Regions from separate parts of the Homo sapiens genome. Here region 2 is linked to region 1. The links are contacts of gene promoters, found by promoter capture Hi-C in human tissues and cell types (Jung and others, 2019). All regions are on one chromosome and are shown on one strand. Each heading gives the region's core, a stretch centred on a gene start or on the middle of the fragment in contact. The rest is flanking DNA. Distances are from core to core; before and after follow the strand shown. Region 1 holds the start of CAMKK1 (calcium/calmodulin dependent protein kinase kinase 1). Region 2 overlaps ITGAE (integrin subunit alpha E).

Region 1 (4,304 bases), core at 730-3,229:
GAGGAGCAGAAGTGGCCTCAGACTGGGGGCAAGGTTGGGGGGGGGGTCACAGGCTAGGGAGCAGCCAGGGACATGGACGCCTGGGATGCAAGCACAAATAGTCACGGAGCACCTGCTGTCTGCCAGACTCTGTGCAAGCCTGTGTGGGGAGATACAGCAGTGAACCAAAAAGACCAAGTCTCTGCTCTCATACAGTTTAATTTCTCGTGGGGGCAAGAAGCAACAAACAAGAAAGCCAGTGATTCAGATATGATATGTCAAGTGGTACATATAGGAAGAAAAATACAGCCGAGTAAGAAGGATCAAGAGAAAGGGGCTGGGAGATGCTGCTGATACAGTGTAGTTGAGGAAGGCCTTTTGGGAGCAGGACTGGAGCAGACACCTGAAGGAAGGAAGGGGCAGTAGGCAGTGTAGTTATCTGGGGAAGAGCATTTCAGGTGCAGGGACCAGCAGGTGCAAACGCCATGAGGGGACAGTGCTTGCTCAGTATGAAGAACAGCAGGGAGGCTGACGTGGCTGGAGTGGAGTCTTCCCCACATAAGAGGCACCTGATAGCAAGAGGAGTTACATCTGGAGAGAAAGCCCCCTCACTCATTGTGCTGGCCTCAGGGATGGCTTCCTAGAGGAGGTGGCACCTGAGCTCTCTTCTGAGCACTGAGCAGGATTTCAGGATGAGGCGAGGATGGAAGTTTGCACTGTGCATATAGGAGAGTCATTTCCTGGCTGGGACTCCGGGCTTGGTTTGGGGGTGGGGAGAGCTTGGTGGACAGAGCCCAGGAGGCCCCCAAAGCCAGGGGGAGGTTGTGAGCAGGGGAGTGCCTCGGTTAGGTGAGGTTTAAAACGACTCCCATGGCTGCTGTGAGGACTGACGGTGGGAGACCGAGGAAGAGGCGAAGGGTCCCCAGAGTGTGTGCGCCTGGGACGCAGTGGGGGGTCAATTTGTATGTACTGGAGGAAAGAGGGCAGGGCTTGGGGAGGCCAGCGCCACTTCCCTGGGATCCTCCAGCGCGCACAGGCTGTGTGCCCCTCCCACACTCCTGTGCCCGCCCTGCGGACACCACCAAGGCCCGGTCCTGTGGCCTGTGACACAGCCTTCTCTGCACAGCCCTGCAACGCCAAGACTTGAGCACACCCCCTCCCCTGACAGGCACACGCCCGTGTCCGCGTGACCCGCCCTCACACACCACTCCATCCTGTCCTGCACCCCCCACGCAGACACAGGCACACTCCCGCGTCCACGTGACACACGCACACCCGCCTCCAAACAGCACACGCAGGTCCCTGCGCACGTGGACACCCCCCCAGCCACCAGCCCTGCGCCTCCCGGGCCCCGAAGCCGCAGCGCCCGCCTCTGCCGCCCCCTCTCGCCCCAGCCAAGGCAGGACCCTGCGCAGCCTGAGCCGCGCGCCGCCGCCGCCCCATTCATCTCCCACCCCGCCCCCGGCTCCTGCAGGAAGACGCTCCGGCGGGCCGTGGGAGGAGCGCTCCGCGGAGAACCGCACGTGGGTGCCCCGGGCCGGGCCCACTCCGCACAGACGTGGCCTCCACCAGGAGCCGGGCGCGGGGGACAGTGCACCGGGGATGGATGCGGTCCGCAGACAGAAGCGGGGAAGAACGCAGACGGCGGGGCACCCGCGGCGATGCGGTCCCGGCGGCCGGCGCAGACCCGAGCAGACTCCGCGAGGCACCCCGCAGACCCGGCCCCGCAGACAGAAGGGGAAGGATCCCCGCCCTGACCAGATCCCAGCTCCCTCGTAGACGCGGCCTGGCAGACCCCCCCCGCCTCTCCCTTGCAGGCTCGGGGCAGGTGTTAAGGCGTTCGTCCTCCTGCTCCTCGCCCGCGTCCCCGCCCCGCCGATCCCTACCTGGGCGCCGGGCGACAGTGTCCGCGGCCCGGCGGGCGGCCCCACTCGCTCCTGCTGCGCGCCCCGCCCCGCCCCGCCCCGCCCCACCGCCTCGCTGGGGCCCAGATCGCCGAGCTCAGCCCGCGGGCGCCGCGGCTCCGGGCAGCGCTCGCTGCCCCGCCCACCGCCGCGCCCGGCCGGCGCTCATTGGTCGGAGCGAACGGCCCCGCCAGCGCCGCCCAATCGGAGCCCGGGACTCCCGCCCCCTCCTGGACTAAGGGACCGCGGTGGGCGGCGCGGTAGGGGCCCTCCCTCCCCTGCGGCGGGGCCGACCTCGCCACGCCCCCGGCGTCCTGGGGTCCCCGAAGTCCCTCCCGGCCGCGGCGTGGGCCCTTCTCCTGGGCCTGCAGGGGACCGTGCTTCCCCGCCAAACCCTTTGCGCCCCCATCCCGGCCTGCAGGAGCCAGAGCGCCCCTCCCTCCCGGGCGAGGCGCGGTGCGTGCGAGGGAGGGGCGAGGCCCGGGGAGGAAGGCCTTGAATGGCAGGCCCAGGAGTGTAGCTTCTGCGGGGCGGGGGCAGAGAGGCCGAGAGGTGGCTTAGCACAGAGTGAAGTGCTTGCTCGGTGAGCCGGCGACAGGAATGGCCTAGCGAGGGCCGAGGGAGTAGAGGGAACTCAGCAGGACAGTGAGGTGACCTTCGCTGTGGCTGTTCCTGGGGACTCTGCCGCCACCTCTTCCCCTAACGCCTCCGCGTGTGAATCCTCTGGCACCACCACTTGCCCCATATCCTTCCCCCAAATCTAACCTCCTGCGTCCCTGTCTCGAAGTGGAGCCAGGAGCCTGGGAGTCACCTGCTGCCTCCCTGTTTCCTGCTCCAACCAGTCCATCTCCAGGCCCTGCCATACTGCCTCTTAACTATCCCTGGAATCGGCCCACTCCTCTCCACCCCACTTCCCCTCCCTTAGCTCAGGCTACCACCATCTTGTCCCTGATTGCTGCAGCAGCCTCCTCCCTGGCCTCCAGCCCCATCCAGTCTCACCTCCTACTAGCCTTTCTCTCCCTGGCACCCAGAGCAAGTTTTCAGGAACACAAGTCCACCGAGAGGCATTTTCTATGGCTCACCGTGAGAATAGGTCTAATCAAGCCCTGTATAGCCTTACTCCCAGCCACCTGCCTGTTTAACGCCTACTCGTCTTTCAGGGTTCAATTCAATCCTACTTCTGCCTGGAAACCTTCTCCATGACCTCCCCACTTCCAGCATGGGTTAGTGGCCCCACCCAGGTACTTCCTTGTACCTGGCATCTGTTTACCTGCTGGTTCCTCATTGGGACTGGGAGCTCCTGGATGGCAAGCACTGTGCCTGATTCGTCCAGCACACAGCCTGTCGCATGGCACAGGTGCTCAGTGGATGTTGTTGAATGAATAATTCCAGCAACTTGAGTGTGGCTTTTGACCTCATGGTTCAGGATACCAGCTAGAGCTCCAGCAATCACATAACGCATTCCAGGCAGTGGAGTGGAGAAAAGGATGAAGAAGAGGGCAGAGGGTCTGCACCAGCTCTCTTTTCAGGAAAGTTCCCAGAAGTTGCCACGTGGCACTTTCACATACACCGCTTGAGCTTACTTAACATGACCAGACCCAGCTGCAAGAGAAAGCTGGGAAATGCAGCTTCCATTCTGGGCAGCCACATGCCCAACCAAGAACCAAGGACTGAATTGCTACCGGGAGAACAGATATCCGGAACAACTAGTGGACTCCACCATTGAGAGGGTGGATAGATTGAGGGGCAGAGCTCGACTGTATGCCAGGTGCTGTTTACAGGTCTTTCCTCAACCCTACTAAAAGCTATTATTGTCCGGGTGCAGTAGCTCATGCCGGTAATCCCAGCCCTTTGGAAGGCTGAGGTGGAGCGTATCATTTGAGCCCAGGAGTTTGAGAACAGCCTGGTCCACATAGTGAAACTCTGTCTCTATTTAAAAAAAAAAAAAAAAAGAAGTTGTTATTATCCTTGACTCACAGAGGAGGCTTGGAGAGTTAAGCCACTTCCCCCAAGGACACACAGTGAACTGTGGCAGAGCTGCAATTGAAACCTGTCTTTTCCTTGCACGCCAGACAGGCTGGGAAGTCAGGAAAGGGTGTGTCCTAGGAGCTGCTGGAAGGAAATCTTTCGACAAGGAAGGCTTGGACAACAATGTGAGAAGCTGTCAGGCCAAGCAGGATATGGGGCCCAAGTGTCTGCTTAAGACTTGGCAACCAGGACACTGCCAGTGACCTTGGCAAGGGCACCTAGGAGAAGTGGTTGGGGTGGAGGCCAATTGCAGAGGGAAGTGTGGACTGGTCTTTCTGGAAGGGTTGCAGTGAGGGGAGAGGGGCAGAGCTGCTGGGGAACCTGGGCCAGGAGGAGGCAGAAGAGGGGGACAGATGTAGGGGTAGGAGAATGGAGGTGGCTTCTGCTGGGCAG
Region 2 (4,304 bases), core at 711-3,210, 130 kb before region 1:
CCTCTCGCTCCTGCACTCACCAAAACACCGTGGTGGCTCCGGACAACGGTCACTCCCCGGTGCCTCCCCTTGGGGATGGGGACATGCTCTGAAAAAGTTAAGCCCAGGTGAGGAGGAGGAGGGGACTCTGGGAGGCAGAGACCCGAAGCCAAGGTCAGAGGGCACAGAGCCACCTTGGTCAGGCCCCCATGAGGAACTGTTGGCCACTCAGAGAAGCCTCTAGAAAGCTAGAGCGGGGGCCTTCAAGGTCAGGACTGGACACGTTCAGGGCCGAGTGCCCATCCCCGGGGCTCATTTGCTGACCCTTTCAACACGTGCCCATTGACGTCTGCTCTGTGCCCAGCCTTGTGAGCGTGGTGATGGGCGTCCAGCAACAGCGGATGCCTGCTGCTTTTCCTCAGTGGGTTTGGTCGGGCAGGTGGGTGGAGAAGCACTGCCTGGTGGGTATGTAAGTGCCAAGGAATGTGCAAGATACCGTGGGACTGGCTGTGTGGACCAAGGAACCCCCCAGCCTCACAGACCCATCCTGGGGAATCTTACTGCCCCCAGCCTCAGGGGCAGAAATGGTAGCTCCTTCCTCGTCCTCCCCACTGTCAGCCTCAGGATACTGTCTTATTTTTCAGTCATGGAATCACTCAGTCAACCCTGCTGGACTGAGATTGAGTCTGTTCAACTCAGTGCCTCTCAGACAAGGATTTTTTTTTTTTTTTTTTTTTTTTTTGAGACAGAGTCTTGCTCTGTCGCCCAGGCTGGAGTGCAGTGGCGCAATCTCGGCTCACTGCAAGCTCCGCCTCCCAGGTTCACGCCATTCTCCTGCCTCAGCCTCCTGAGTAGCTGGGACTACGTGTGCCCGTCACCACACCTGGCTAATTTCTTTTTGTATTTTTAGTAGAGACGGGATTTCACCGTGTTAGCTAGGATGGTCTCGATCTCCTGACCCATGATCGGCCCACCTCAGCCTCCCAAAGTGTTGGGATTACAGGCATGAGCCACCGTGCCTGGCAGGATTTTTTTTTTTTAAACAGTCTTGCTCTGTTGCCCAGGCTGGAGTCCAGTGGTGCAATGTCAGCTCACTGTAACCTCCACCTCCTGGGTTCAAGCGATTCTTCTGCCTCAGCCTCCCAAATAGCTGGGATTGTAGGCATGCACCACCACGCCTGGCTGATTTTTGTATTTTTGGTAGAGATGGGGTTTCATCATATTGGCCAGGCTGGTCTCGAACTCTGGACCTCAAATGATCTACCCGCCTTGGCCTCCCAGTGTGCTAAGATTACAGGCGTGAGCCACGGCGCCCAGCCTCAGACAAGACAAGGATTCTATTTATTTATATATATATAGCCAAGAGGTTGTCAGTAAATCTGTGACCTGAGTTTGACTGGGTAGGATGGATAGAGTTTAATGAGTGAATCAGGTTCATTCATTCATTCATTCATTCATTCATTCAAATGGCATTTATTGAGTACCTAATATATGTCAGGCCCCATGCTAGTTACTAGGGTGGCCACAGTTAGACTGAATATGTAGGGGGTGAATTGCACTGAGGTGTGATGACTTGCATCAGGAAGGGCTAGAGTTTCGAATCAGCCACCAACACTAAAAGTGTGAACTTTGTCATACTGGCAACCAAAAGACCTACATTCTCTGAACTGTAGCTTCCTCTCTTATAAATGGCGCGGTTTTGAGGATGAAAACAGAATGACTCAGAGGACTGCCGGGCACAGGGTGGGCACGCAATACGCTGTAGGTATCATTTCTGTTGCTAGGACTGTGTCAGGAAAGGTGGCTGGGGATTAGGATTGGGTTGGGGTGGGACTGGGCATTGGGATGGAATCTTGCTGTGGGTTATGCTGGAGTCTAGGGGTGAACGGGCTGGATGAGGCAGGGCTGGGGTTGGAATGGTTTGAGTTTAGATGAGGGGGATTTTGCTAGAAAGGGGGTCCTGGGGAGCATTCCCTGGAGTTGGGGCTGACTTACCTACAGGATGGCAAAGGATTTCATCCTGGACAAGGGAACATCGATGGAGGGGCCCTGGTGTCCTCTTGGTTCTGGGGCTGGTGACCAGGAGCCTGAGTGGGAGGGGAGGTTGCAAAGCTGAGCTGGCTGATGTTCCTCGTCTTCTCCCTGCCTGCCCAGCACCCTTCCCATTCCAGTTGCCTGCACTCACAAGCTCCCTGTCTGGCCGGCAGATTCCTAGCCCAGACTCTGGATTATGGGGAAGACATTTGCCCAACCTCTGCTTCTACACAGCACCAGGCAGGAAATGGTTAAATGCAACCCCTCTCTGCCTGCTGCCCACCCTGACAAAGAAGGGGTGATACTGATGGTTAATAAAAACTCTGCTCTCTTATGGGGACAGGGATGGGGAGGCCAGAAAACCACCAGCGTTGGGGTTGGTTCTGTTGGGGGCAGTGCTGGCTTCCTCGTGGGCCACCCAGGGGGCCTGCCCTGCCTGGCCTTAGTTCCTGAGAAGAGTACGCTGGTGCCCCTATCCTGTGGGTCAGTCAGAACTGGAGGTTTGGAGGCCGGGCGCGGCGGCTCACGCCTGTAATCCCAGCACTTTGGGAGGCTGAGGCAGGTGGATCATCTGGGGTCAGGACTTTGAGACCAGCCTGATCAATATGGTGAAACCCCGTGTCTACTAAAAATACAAAAATTAGCCGGGCATGGTGGCGTGTGCCTGTAGTCCCAGCTACTCAGGAGGCTGAGGCAGGAGAATTGCTTGAACCTGGGAGGCAGAGGTTGCAGTGAGCGGAGATCACGCCACTGCACTCCAGCCTGGGGGACAGAGTGTGACTTCGTCTCATAAATAAATAAATAAATAAAAGAACTGGAGGTTTGGGGGTGGCTGCCTCAGCCTGATTAAGGCAGCCTCAAGAGCTGCGCCTCCTGACTGCAAACTTCTTGCCCCCACCCAGGCCCAGTCCAGGGAGACGGCAGATTCCAGGGACAGCCTCAACATTCTCACCATCCACGTTACCCAGGAGAACTGGGCTGTCCTGAGACAGACAGTGAGCTCCGGGGGTTGTCATAGGGGATGGTGGGGAGGGGACGAGGGGCTTGGTGGTTAACAGTGAACCAAGTCCAAGGTCTTTCTGCAGAGGGCAGTAGAAGTCATGGAGGACTTTATAAAGGGGAAGCACATGATTAGCTGTGCTTTCAAAAGCTCATGATGAGGCCGGGCGCGGTGGCTCACGCCTGTAATCCCAGCACTTTGGGAGGCCGAGGCAGGCAGATCACGAGGTCAGGAGATCGAGACCATCCTGGCTAACATGGTGAAACCCCGTCTCTACTAAAAATACAAAAAATTAGCCGGGCGTGGTGGCGGGTGCCTGTAGTCCCAGCTACTCGGGAGCCTGAGGCAGGAGAATGGTGTGAACCCAGGAGGCAGAGGTTGCAGTGAGCCGAGATCACGCCACTGAACTCCAGCCTGGGTGACAGAGCGAGACTCTGTCTCAAAAAAAAAAAAAAAAAAAAAAGGTCATGATGTGGCTACAGTGGGTTGGGACAGACTAAAGAGCACAGGAAGGTGGGGCAGAAATGAGATACCGTCTCCACTTCCTCAACTCCTATCACTCTACATTTTAATACATTATGAAATATATTCACGTATCGGCATGGCTTACAGAATAATAAGAAAGTCTGCACCTGTGCGTCCATCCGCCCACCCACAACTGAACCCACCCCAAGCTGACTTCCCACCCTCTGAGTCAGTTCCTGTGAAGGTCACCAGGGGCCCCCACAATGCCACATCCAACGGACCGCTCTCTGTCCTCATCTTCCTCAACCTCTCAGAAGCCCCAAACATGAGTAACCATCTCCTTCGAACACTTTTTTCTAGATTTCTGCCTACTCTCTCCTCATTCCTCAAGGCTTCGCTGGTGCCTTCGCGGTCTGACCTCTATCTGCCACCAGGATCTGGGGGCTGGGTCACTGTCTTCCTTGCCGGCACACTCTCCCTAGTGATCCCTTCCAAGCCCATGGCTTCAATACACCTATAACGGCTGAAATTCCCACCTCTCCATCTGCTATCGTAGGCAGAATAATGGCCCCCCAAAGAAGGCCACGTCCTAATCCCCAGAACCTGTGAATATGTTGCCTTTTATGGCAAAAGGGACTTCGTAGATGTGAGTTAATAAATTAAGGATCATGAGATGGGGGGGTTATCCTGGATTATCTAGGTGGGCTCAGTGAAATCACAAGGGTCCTTCTATGAGGGAGGCCCCGAAAACGGTGGCATGGGCGAGCCGCAGGGACTCAGGGGGACGTTGAGGCAGGCAGAGGGGAGAAGTGGCGAGACTGCAGGG

What was found. The method cuts DNA at HindIII sites, captures the fragments that hold promoters and counts their contacts. A contact is called where the count stands out against the background at its distance.
Region 2: a fragment that was not itself captured here is called in contact with the fragment with the promoter of CAMKK1 in region 1 in 2 of the 25 tissues and cell types used here (adrenal gland and lymphoblastoid cells).

Annotation. Positions count from the first base shown.
Region 1 is chr17:3,891,074-3,895,377 of GRCh38, forward strand. CAMKK1 (calcium/calmodulin dependent protein kinase kinase 1) reads right to left here and starts at 1,980. Exons shown (of 16, transcript NM_032294.3): 1 at 1,866-1,980. RefSeq lists silencers at 1,287-1,536, 1,677-1,856, 1,887-2,426. The HindIII fragment of the contact is 23,333 bases long and covers 1-4,304 here.
Region 2 is chr17:3,761,895-3,766,198 of GRCh38, forward strand. ITGAE (integrin subunit alpha E) reads right to left here. Exons shown (of 31, transcript NM_002208.5): 3 at 1,975-2,066; 4 at 21-88. Among named protein-coding and RNA genes, the nearest start is that of ITGAE, 37 kb to the right of the region's middle. RefSeq lists an enhancer at 1,785-1,884. The HindIII fragment of the contact is 6,528 bases long and covers 1-4,304 here.